2 separate regions of the Homo sapiens genome follow, and region 2 is linked to region 1. The links are contacts of gene promoters, found by promoter capture Hi-C in human tissues and cell types (Jung and others, 2019). All regions are on one chromosome and are shown on one strand. The core of a region is centred on a gene start or on the middle of the fragment in contact, and the rest is flanking DNA. Distances in the headings are between cores, read along the strand shown. Region 1 holds the start of MEIS2 (Meis homeobox 2). Region 2 has its middle 58 kb from the start of SPRED1.

The links. The method cuts DNA at HindIII sites, captures the fragments that hold promoters and counts their contacts. A contact is called where the count stands out against the background at its distance.
Region 2: a fragment that was not itself captured here is called in contact with the fragment with the promoter of MEIS2 in region 1 in 1 of the 25 tissues and cell types used here (dorsolateral prefrontal cortex).

Annotation. Positions count from the first base shown.
Region 1 is chr15:37,097,154-37,103,081 of GRCh38, reverse strand. MEIS2 (Meis homeobox 2) reads left to right here and starts at 2,533. Exons shown (of 12, transcript NM_170675.5): 1 at 2,533-3,627; 2 at 4,883-5,115. The coding sequence starts at 3,616. It overlaps LOC124903465 (a long non-coding RNA gene), which reads right to left and starts at 3,834. Exons shown (of 2, transcript XR_007064581.1): 1 at 3,653-3,834; 2 at 1-3,281. RefSeq lists silencers at 1,163-1,302, 3,752-3,811, 3,962-4,161 and enhancers at 2,003-2,282, 2,533-2,692. The HindIII fragment of the contact is 11,980 bases long and covers 1-5,928 here.
Region 2 is chr15:38,192,147-38,198,074 of GRCh38, reverse strand. No RefSeq gene overlaps it. Among named protein-coding and RNA genes, the nearest start is that of SPRED1, 58 kb to the left of the region's middle. The HindIII fragment of the contact is 3,468 bases long and covers 589-4,056 here.

The DNA.
Region 1 (5,928 bases), core at 1,284-3,783:
AAACAACAATAATCCTATTGGCGACGATAAACTTAAATTCTTAAATTGAATTTAAGAATAATTAGAAGAGTAAAAACTGAGTACAAATTTCTCAGCCAGCGGCGCTGCACCGGGAACTTGGACCCACCAACATCAACAGCTTTGCAAAGTCGAAAACGCTCCGCAGCGTTTTTGTTTTTTTCCCCTCCCCACCCCGCCGCACTCTCAAACCTCCCGGTCCCGGCTAAACTGAATTCGCGTAACTGTCGATTGAAATAAAATTCTGGAGACCAACTTTTTCTTTTCTCTTTCATCTTCTTTTCTTTTTTACTCACCTTCTCTTAAATGTCGACGAGCAACTCAGCAACAAATAAGGATACTTTTAATCTTGGAGTTCTTCTAGGAAAAAAAAGAGGACGTGGAGGAAGTACCCTCCCCCCAACCTTCAGATTTCCTACCCGTCGGCTCTAGCAGGCTTGAAGCCCGGCAAAAAAGAGTGGCTGAAAACCTGGGCTACACTCTCCTCCCTGAAGCTCCGTGAGTCTGGCCGTCCCTGCTCGGGCCATTGGGCAGAAACCTCGCGGCCCGCAGCCCCTCTCCCTGGCGTCGCGCTATCCGCGCCTCTGCCAGCCCCTTCGCACTATCTTTCTTTATATGTGAGGGCCGATTTCCCGCAGACATCATTGTTATGATGGCTCATTTAATCAAACTGTTTAATTGCTCTGGTAATCACTATCATCATCACAGGTGCTCAATCATTCATCATTTTTGGAGGGCTTTATTGACCTCCGGAGTTCATTCCTCAGCCCTATTAAAACGAGGCCAAATTTCTCCGACTCCGCTTGGAGTCTCTGCAGGCTGCAATCTTAGCCTAGTTTCTGTTGCTCGAAAGCTTACAGTGAAGCAGGGAACATGGAACGGGGGCCAAAAAAAAGAGCCCTCCCACCCGCCCTCCTCCCCGCTCTCTCTCGCTCTCTCTCTCTCTCTCTCACACACAACACACACACAGAGTACTTTATTCTCTCTAATCAACCTCCCCCATCCCACCCTCCCTCCGCGGGAAAGTCGGTTAGACGCGGCTCGCGGAAGACACTACTCTCCACTTCTCAGAATGGGTTCAAAGTTGGGGAGGGATGCGGCTGTTGGAGAACAACAGTCCGCTTTCCACTCTCTGGGCCAGGGACTGGGAGGGCGAGAGCGAGAAGTTGGGGAGAGGACGCGCTTCCAGCGCCTGTCCGCCCGGCCGCGCCACAAGGGGCCGAGGGGCATGGGGGCTGCTGGGCGGCAAGGCTTGCGCGGGGTGACCGTGGCTCCGCCCCCAACTCCGGGCTCGTAGTGATTGACGCGCGGCCGCCGGGAAACCAGCCGCGCAGAGGTGAAGCCTGGTGCAGCTCGGGCCAGGGAGGACAGGGCACCGGCCACAACTAGTTTCCACCCAAACGGTGTGGGGTAGTTCCCTTCGTTTCCTTTTCCTTTTTGGAAAAGTTCTTTCGGAGCTGGCCCCATCTCCCTGACCCCGCGAAATCGCCCCTGTGTAATTAACACAGCCATTAGCAGGCGTTACCGCGGCCCGCCGCTGCGCCTCGGGCGACCACAACAAAGCTGGGCTGTGAGCGCCGGCCACTCCTCCTCGCCCGGCAACTTCTTTCTCCCCCACTCTCTCCGTCTTTTCCTCCTGTGCTTCCCAGCTCTGAGTGAGATCCACTTTGGAGACGCACACTAGTCGCGCGCGCGCACGGGCGCGCGGGCGCGCGCGCGCACACACACACACACACACACACACACACACACACACACACGCCTTTGGCTACATCGGACCCAGATGACTGCCTCCTCACTTCCTCCCTCCCGATTCCGCCGCGGCCCCCAAAGACTCTCGGGGTGGCCCCTTGTCCGCACCGCTTGGAGGGAGTGTGCTCTGAGTTAAGCTGGTCTCTTCTGGTCCTGGAAAAAAATGAGTATTGACAAGGTTGCTGGATCTGCGCAGAAAAGAAAGTGCCACTTAATAAAAAATTTAGCCCGGCAGTGGTACCGTCTGCAGAGCTTGCTGCCCTTGGACGTTAGCAGGAAGCCTTCGGGGTGCTGTAATCGGCGGGCAGAGGAGAGGGAGGCCGCGGAATTAAAAGGAACAAAAGCTAGAGCGCCATGCCAAACGTCCCCGGCAAGACCCAGTTAGGCAGGAGCCGGGAGTGATGGGAAAATGAACTAGAAGTAAGTTTTTTTTTTTTTTTAAATGAAAAGATCTGAGGCGGTACCGTACTTTCCCTGTGGTTTTCTGCAGTTTTCCTCTCTGCGCTCTCCCTGTCCTCTTCTCTCTCCCCCTCTCCCTCTCTCCCTGTTCGCGCGCGCGCGCGCGCAACACACACGCGCGCACGCACACACATACACACACACTCACACACACAGACACACTCTCCTTTTCCTCCCCCCCGCCGTCCCCCATCCCCGTGGAGGAGCAGGCTTGCTGATTTGCTCGGGTCCGCCCGGCTCGAGCCTCCCCTCCCCCTCCCGCCCCCCCGCCTCCCCCACCCCCCCAGCCGGGGCTGTCCGATCGCACTCGTTGCATATCAGAGGCTCGGCGCGGCGCGCTCCTCCTCGCTCCCGCTCCCCACTCCCGGGATGTGTCTCCGCCGTACGACGGGCTATGGCCACCACGACTTCCGGGTTCCGTCATTTCGTTCTCCCGCCGCCGACCCGCGCCGCCAAACTGAGGCTCTTCAATAAGCCAGGCAGCAGCCAACCTGCCAACACCTACTGACACTCACTCATCTCCCAGAGAGAGAAAGAGAGCGAGAGAGAGCGAGCGCGAGAGAGCGAGCGCGAGTGAGAGCGAGCGAGCGAGCGAGAAAGAGAGAGAGGGAGAGACAAAATACCTACCAGGAAAGGGGGGGAGGAAGTCCAATTTTTGCAAACTATTCATTTTTTTTTCTTGATTTTTCTCACTGCTTTCTTTGAACAATACTTTAAAGAGAGAGGATCGTATTATAGATACCGCGGGGGCAAAGCTAAAAAAGGGGGGAGGGGGGAGGAAAAAATTCAAGAAGCAGAAACCCCTCGCGGAGTTTTACTGGAAGAAAAAAACGGGTCTGAAAGATTCCTCCTCTTCATCATCATCAACCATCATTCATTCACTACCTTGACATTCCGGGCTTTGATTGACAGCTGGAGTGGCAAAAAGCCATGAAACACGACAGTTCGGTTACATGTGGGCTGCTGACGGGCCGCTCGTAACCTTCAGTTCGGGGGCTTGACAATTTTTTTCTTCTTTTTCTTCTTTTTCTTTTCTTTCTTTTTTTTTCCAACTGAGGGGAAGAGAAGAGAAAGAGGGGGAAAGGAGGACCGAAGAGGAGGAGGAGGGGAGGGGGGAGGAGGAGGAGGTGGAGGAGGAGGAGGAAGATCAGGAGGAGGAGGAAGAAGAGGAAAAAAGAGAAAAAGAAGAAATATCACAGAAAAAAAAATTCTTCGTTGTCTAGACTGGGCTTTTTTTCCCCCCTAAAAAATAGCATATTGGAGAATTGGGAGAAGTCTCTTTGGTTTGGAAAAAAAAAAAAGGAATCTTCAGCCTAGATCACTTTCTTATCCGGACTGGGATATTAAATATACGACACATCCAGGAGTTTATTGGAGCGCAGACTGATGGCGCAAAGGGTAGGTTTAAATCTCCAACACTTACCTAGATATAAATCCTCTCCTAAGAGGGGCCTGTCCCGATGCCTCCTCTCCCTTCAACGCTTCTGCTGCTGCTCGCTGCTTGATGATGGCGGCCAGTATTTTAAAAAATAGCAAAATTATTCATCGGCTTCTTTCCCTCCCGTGCCTCTGCGTGTGTGCGAGTGTGTGTGCGTGCGTGTGTGCGTGTCTGGGCGCGCGTGTTCCAGCGCTGTGCGAGCGGGCGGGCGGCGAGTGCGTGTGAGTGGTGTGTGTGTGTGCGTGTGCAATCGTTACACGCTTTCGCCTCGCTCCAGCTTTTACCCCAGCAGCGCGATTCCCCCGGTTCTCCTGCTGCCGCTGCTGCGCCGCTGCCGCCGTGGCTCGCGCGGCTCGGGGCGGGCACGGGCTGCGTAGGAGCCGCCGCCGGGGCCGCCGCTGGGGCCGCGCTGCCGCAGCCGCTGCGCCGCCGCCTAGACTACTAGCCTGGGCTGCTTGTTTTGTCTCTGAAATTGACAAGGACGCAGGGAATCCGCTGCTAAATAATGTTTCTGGTAACTTTCACGTTATTCGCCCCCCCACCCTCCGCTCCCTGCCCCCGGGGAGGCACTGGCCCTAGTCTTTCCTAGTCCTCGGCGTTCTCGTGCTGATTATTAGCGTTTTTCTTCTCTTTATTTTGTTTCATTTCGCCTTTTGATTTATTGGATCCTCAGAGGAGGCGAAGGGGGGTTAGGGGTGGGATCCGGGGCTTCCTCCTCACACTAACTCCACTTCTCCCTCCGTTGGCTCGCTACGGTTCTGTTGCCTCCGGCGGGAGCGGGGCCTCCCGGCGCCCCCTCAAATCCCCGGCCTCGCCGCCTCCTCTTCCTTCTCTAAACGTTGCTCTTGGTTCATGCTTTTTCATTTTTAAATTTAATAACATTTTTTCCTCACAACTTTTAACTCCGTTGTTTTGGCTGGTTTGGTTTCTGTGTGCTCAACTTGTGCTCGGTACTTTTCTCCTTTCTGACTTTGTTTTTATTTTTATTTTCTCTCTCTCTCTCTCTCTCTCTCTCTCTCTCTCTCTCTCTCTCTCCCCCTCTCCTCCTTTTCCTCCTCCTCCTCTCTTCTCTCTTACCTCCCTCCCTCTCTCTCATCTTTATCCCTTCCTCTCTTTTCTGTTCGCCCTCTTCTCCCTGCTCTTTTTCCCTTTCCACCCCCCTCCTCTGTTCTCCCTCACCTCCTGCGCCCCCTCCCCCTTCCCGGGTTCTGACAGTACGATGAGCTGCCCCATTACGGCGGGATGGACGGAGTAGGGGTTCCCGCTTCCATGTACGGAGACCCTCACGCGCCGCGGCCGATCCCCCCGGTTCACCACCTGAACCACGGGCCGCCGCTCCACGCCACACAGCACTACGGCGCGCACGCCCCGCACCCCAATGTCATGCCGGCCAGTATGGGATCCGCTGTCAACGACGCCTTGAAGCGGGACAAGGACGCGATCTATGGGTAAACTGACCCCCCGGACCCAGCTTACTGTGTGTGAGTGTGAGAGTGTGTGTTTGTCTCTGTGGGGGTGGGAAGGTGGACGACTAAGTGGGGAGTTACTTCTGTATGGTGGGGGGCGGGCGCCGCTTGCCTTAGGAAGGGACCGTGGAGGGGGCCTGCTCTTCTGCCCCTGGAGTCAAAGCCCCGAAGAACTAGCCTCTTTCGCTCTCACAGCCCGACCACTCCAGACCCCACAGCCTGGAGTGACTGAGTCCCCAGAATCTTGCCGGGGCCTTCTCCCCGAGGACAGGATTCCTGGCCAAAGGACGCAGGACTGCTCGTTTCAGGCTCCCTAACAGAGGCCTTGACGAAGGAGAAAGTTTCCTGCCGATGAGAAGCAACTTTGGGTTTTTTTATTTTTTACTTTTTTTTCTTCTGTTTCCTACTGAGGGTCTGGGAGTCACTAACAGCAGCTTGAGCTGGGATCAGGGCTGCTTCTGTCGGCCAGGAAGTCCTAATCACCCACTTCTTAATTCTCTGTAAATAAAGGGGGCAGACCTCGAAGTGCAGCGAGGTGGAAGGGACTCTTGCTTGCTTGGAGCCGCTCTTAGGGGGAGTAAGGAAGATGGCTGGAAATTATTTTATATTCTGAGAGCACTTGGCGAGGGGTGAGATGCACGATCCTAACGTGTACCACACGAGCTCTTCCGGCTGAGGGTAGGTGGGCAAAGCGACGGGATGCCGAGGGGAGGGGACAGTGGGTAAACAGCAACTGAGCCCCAAGCCAGAGGCCGCAAGCATCCCGAAGTGTGGCTAAGCCGCCCGGAGGAACAC
Region 2 (5,928 bases), core at 1,073-3,572, 1.1 Mb before region 1:
AGTGTAATATGTTTTAATACTTTTTGAAGAATGCAACAATCCCATAGGCCATTACTGACTAGAAATGGTGACATTTCACAAGTGTCCCAAACTTGGGATTTATTGAGCTTCTCCATAGTAGAGTGTCTTTTCAAACTTGCTTCTATTAGTTTTCATCATCGCTGTTTTCTTTATTATGGTTGTTTCCAACAGTTTAAATAGAAAAATGCTACACATATTTCAAAGTGAGGAGCCTTGTATAGACCGGCATATAAGCACAGGAAGTAGCATTTAAGCTACACAAATGTTTCCCAGCCCTTGCCACTGAATAGGCCCATTGTTCTCCATCCAAGCTGTACGTCATGATCATGTGTGGGGTTTAAAAAATATAGATTTCTAGGCCCTGCCTTGGAGATTCTCAGTTGTTCTGAGGTGGGGTTGGGGGATGGTCCAAACTTCTATAGTCAAAAAAAGTGCCACAGATGTTTCTGCTGCACAGTGATCGCTGAGGTCTTGGATTTAGTAAAGCAATACCAAGAATCTTAATTTCTTGTCTGTTATAAAATTTTTAAAAGGCAGTACCTACAAGTTAAACTTGGGTGAAAGTGCCAGTTCCACTGCTTACTGTGCAAACTTGGGCAAATCTCTTACTGTTTCTGAGCATCATGGTTTTCATCTGAAAAATGGGGAATCATAGTTTCCTAATGAAATGTGGTGAAGATTAAACGAGATAATGTATGTTACCTCATGTTCCCCAGTGCCTTAGTAAGCACATAATATGTAATAGTTATGATTTTATTCCCCTTTGTGTATGTCATCTGGAGAAATTTATACCTGAGAGATTGAATATGAGAGATTATTCTACCTACCTATGCCCAGGGGGACAAGGGGATCTATGAGAAACTAAAAATTGTAAAACCTGGCTGTTGACATCTAAACATTTGGAAATCAATGGCTAGTCATCTTTCCTACAGAAGGAAATGGAAAAATGAAACCACCCTTCTTCATTATGAAGGAAGATGCCTAAGAAGAATGGTTCTCTGAAAAACAAGATGTAACAATGGCTGCTGGTCATTGACCAACTTCAGCAGGAGAGATTGCTGATCTCTTGTTACTCTCAACTCCCACTGTGGGGGATGAGGCAGGTCTCTTCCCTATTCTCTTTTTCTACCATGGTTATTCCTGCTGCTTTGCCTTGGTTTTTCTGCTCTTCCCGTATCACTTAGATCCTATATATTCTTGTCTCTTTTGATCAGCCCAGCTTTCAGTGAAGCTTTTCTTGCCCCCATTTCTTGAACTTCTGTTGTCTTAACTAGTACCTTGAACTGTATTCATTTTATTATTTTGTTGTTGTTAGTCCTGTCTTTCCAAATGGACTTCAAATTTTCTGAGGGAAAAGATATTTTGCTAACTTTCATGTACATCTTCTTTCTTAGCCCAGCACACACAGCCATAGATGTAAAAGATTGCCTCATAAAAGCAAATCAGGTGCTGAAGAGAGTCATCTGTATGTGAAGCAGAGAGTCAATGAGGCCATCTTTAGTGGTTGGTGTGCTAGTGACTTAAGGTTCAATTTTAGCAGCTGTTCTTCACTTTCCAACAGGGATATATAAAACACACAGATTGTTATAACTCTCCTTTGACTTTCCTTGTTGATAAATTTAGATATAATATTTTCCTATTTTAAGTAGTGGTTCTCAACATTGTTTACACGTTAGAATCATCTGGAAAGCTTTAGAAAACCCTCATGTTCAGACTACACCACAGACCAATTAAATCAGAATTTCTAGGAGTGAAGCCAAGGCATCAGAATTTTTAAAAGCTTCCTAGGAGATTCCAATGTACAGCCAAGATTGAGAACCACTGTTTTAGATTAAACTATGTAAAATCTGATTAAGAGACCCCTAGATTGGAAACTGACAATAAACAAACATCCAGGTCTGGGATTTCTTAATGGGCTCCACTGGTGCTGTGGACTTCCTTCTCATTCTGACTGTTCTTTTCCTAAGCTGCCTTAAGGCACATTGTTCAGTGGATCCGAGACTCCGATTTGAGAACAAGCATAAGCAAGAAGTGAAACTCTTGCAGCAGGGTACGTGTACCTGCTGTTAATCTTGGATTGCTCATAGTCCTAAACGATGCCCATTATTCAAATCTCAAATTGAATGTTATTTCTTGATGGAGTCTTCTCTGACAACTCTCATATCCATTAATAGTTGAACACTAGTCATACTTTCTCAAACACTCTATTGTTTCCCTTTATAGCACTCATGATATACAGAAATTTTAATGGTTATTTGCTTAATATGTAATACACCACCTCCCCCTCCTCCTACCGCTGGGTTTTGAGCTCATGGATGGAAGAGACCATCTCTGCCTTATTCATTATTGTAAATTTGGCAGCCATCACAATGCATGTGGTAAGAGCTGAGTAAATAGTTGGTGAAGGAATAGAAATCAGAGTACTATTGTTAGATGAGTGTTTATTGACGGGGGAGAATGGTAGAGTCCGGTGCCTCTCTGTGGAGCATTCTATCAATTGTGAGATAGTGCAGAGTGGGGGCAATCTCAATTACCTAATTTTGACCAGTGATTCTCAAATATGGCCTGCTCAGGAGAATCACCGGGATGTTTTGTTGAAAGTACAGATGCCTATGCCTCATCTCCAAAAGATCTGATTTCAGTAGTGTGATGTCAGAGCTAGGAATAAGTTTGCCAGCTAAGTCTGATGCCCTCGGCCACAGTCCAGCATTTAGAAACTACTGCTTTAGCCATTGCCTGAAATGACTTTCAGAACCACTGTCAAATTTGGAGCCTGCATTTTCTGTAGCTCAGTTATTCTTTTGCTCTGTGATGAAATTATGAAGGTGAGGTTAAGGGTTTTCTTTGGAAGAGAGACACATTGCTTTATGCAACAACTCTGGAGGGATAATGCCCCCAGTGCCATCTACTCTGTTTATAATGTGGCTGGCTGAACTTATGGTTTCTTAGGAATCCATGTTCTAAAGCCTGATGGTAATATTAGAACTATGTCAATGTAACACTTTCCCCAAATGCTTGGAAAACTTAACCACGTAGGCCACGGTGTGTGGCTATACTGATCTCAGTGGCTGTACTCACACTGAAAAAAATATGTCAGCATTGGCCATATTTTTATATACCTAGATCTATTTTGAGAAACAGTCAACATGGGAAATATTACATTAAATATTCATGGCATTTGTGTTCATGCTGAAAAAAGTTACACAGATTATAAAACTTCAGTGACTCAGAAATCTCCCATCTATCAAACTCAACTAGCCAAAAAGAGCAAAGAAGGAAAAAATAAGCAAAAGAGAACTCCAGATATCAAAAATATGTGGAATTTTAAATAAAACCTATATGAACAAAAGTAAGACTTTTTTCTTTTTTTTAAAGTAGAATCCATTTACTCAGGATCTATTTGCTGTAACTTTAGACATAATCTAACTGCTTTGGGGAATCATGATGCAGGTACAGTAAACACAAGAATACCAAAATCATAGCCATGTAACACTTCTTGGGCTGAAACAGTCATTTGTTTCAGTGTCTACACTTTAATATTTAATAATTGATAATATTTACATGTGTTATATAATTTAATATTTATCATCAACAAAGAGAACTCCAGGGAAGATAATATTCCCATTCTACAGATGAGGAAACTGTGTGGCAGAGAGGTTAAAAAACTCAATGAAGTCATTCTGATTTCTAATTCAATAAACTTTCTGCTGTATTATGTTGCCTGATGGAGTTTCACTGTTTGTTGCCCAGGCTGGAGTGCAATGGTGCCATCCTGGCTCACTGCAACCTCTGCTTCCCAGGTTCAAGCAATTCTCCTGCCTCAGCCTCCCAAGTAGCTGGGACTACAGCTGTGCACCACCATGCCCAGCTAATTTTTTTTTTTTTAATTTTTAGTAGAGACAGGGTTTCACCATGTTGGCCAGGCTGGTCTCAAACTCCTGACCTCGGGTGATCCACCCGCCTTGGCCTCCCAAAGTGCTGGGATTACAGGAGGGAGCCACCTCACCTGGCCTTCCATTGCCTTGTAAAATAAAGAACAACTTTTGATAACCATGAAGAGAATCTAGAATCATCAAGAAAAGGTTGAAGTTTAGCATACTTAGTTTAAAAGTGTAGAATCATCTATGGTATTTTACAAATGTTTCCATTAACAATAGTTAAAATTAAATAACAATGTGTGAGTGCCTGAAGGAGTAAGTTTCTGTCATATGGAAAAATCACTTATGTGAAATCTTTACTTTGTAGGAATTCAGATGAAAAAGAAATACAAACATACTCACACATTTTTAAAACTGGACTTCTTGCCACTATGAGTCACCACCATTTTTTATGTGAATGTGGTGTGGCATGGGTTATTTATTATTTACATGGTTCACAAACCATTCTTCCGTGCTCAAAAATGGCCCAGGAAAGGAAGGGAAGGAGACAGCACCACTCAATTAAAACAAGAGATTTTTAACAAGACAGTATATGCCCTAACTGGGAGCCAGGACACTGATACTAACCTCTTCTTCACAAAAAGTGATTAAGGGATCTTGGTTTGTGCTAAAGTTCTGCTTGGCAATACGTATGATGGTACTATTACAATAGCTTGTATAAGTTATGCCTTTTTCAAATTCTTACCTTGCCCTTTATCAGCACAGTTCTCCAATCCTAGGATCAGATGTATGGCTGATATAAATCAGCAGAAAACAAAATTCTATATTCCTGTTCCCTGCAATCAATGAGTGGACAGACTGTAAACTCTGCAAGGATAGAAGTTGCTATTATTTTGCAATTGTTTCATTCCTTACTTTACTCACTGATATTTTCTGCAGAGCTGTGCTGGCCATTGGCCTTTGACCTTCCAGGATTTGGTCAAAAAAATTTTTTTTCCAGGATGCTTTCAGATGTCAAAGCATTTGTGAACATTTTACTTCTGAATCCATGTTGGTATTAAAGTAAAGAAGTAATCCCAAATATTAATCTACTGTCTGATTTTTTTTATTATAGTGCTCTTAAACTATTGTGGAGTTATTTTTGCTTCTCTATTCTAAAACTGGGAAAATTGATTTTGAGTCATGACATCAAATTTTTCCTCATCTCCTTATCCATTAATTTGTTAATGGGTTATTTGGTGGTTTTAAAACATGTCCATAAATTCTTTGACACAACTCCTTTCAAAGCTGGAGTCTAATTCCCTGCCACTTCAATGTCCACCAGAGGTAGCGACTCACTTTTAACACACCAAATGTGGCAAGAAGTCATGATCTGTGACCTCTAAAGATAGCCCATAAAAAATATCACCACTTCCATTTGCTCTCTTTTATGTTGTCCACTTTTGGGGGAAGCCAGCTGCCATGTTGTGAGGATACTTAAATAGCCTTCAGAGACACCTGCATGGGGAGGAACTGAGACCTTCTGTCAACAGCCTGCATGTGGAAGATACACCGTGTAAATGCCTCCTCCAACTCCACTCAAGCCTTCAAATGGCTGCAGCCCTGGCTGATTTCTTGACTGTAACCTCATGCAATTCCCCAGCCAGAACCACCCAGCTAAGCCACTCTGAATTCCTGCAGAATCCATGAGAGACAATATATGATTATTGTTGTTTTAAGGCACTAAGTTCTAGAGGACTTTGTGAAGTGGTACTAATCCAGTTGTCTTGTCCAGACAAGGTGTTGCCTTTATTCATACAACAAATATTTATTGAGCATCTAGTCAAGCAGTCTGTTAGGTGCTGCTTGTACCAAAATCAACAGACAAAACATAGTACCTGCCTTTAAAGAGCTTATAACCTTGTGATGGATACAAATTTAAATAAATGATTATCTAATTATTAAATTACAATAAGTGTGCCAGGTAATAGGGTTATGAGTGCCATGATTTTCAACCCAAAGTTCAGGAAAGGTTTACCCGAAGAGCTGA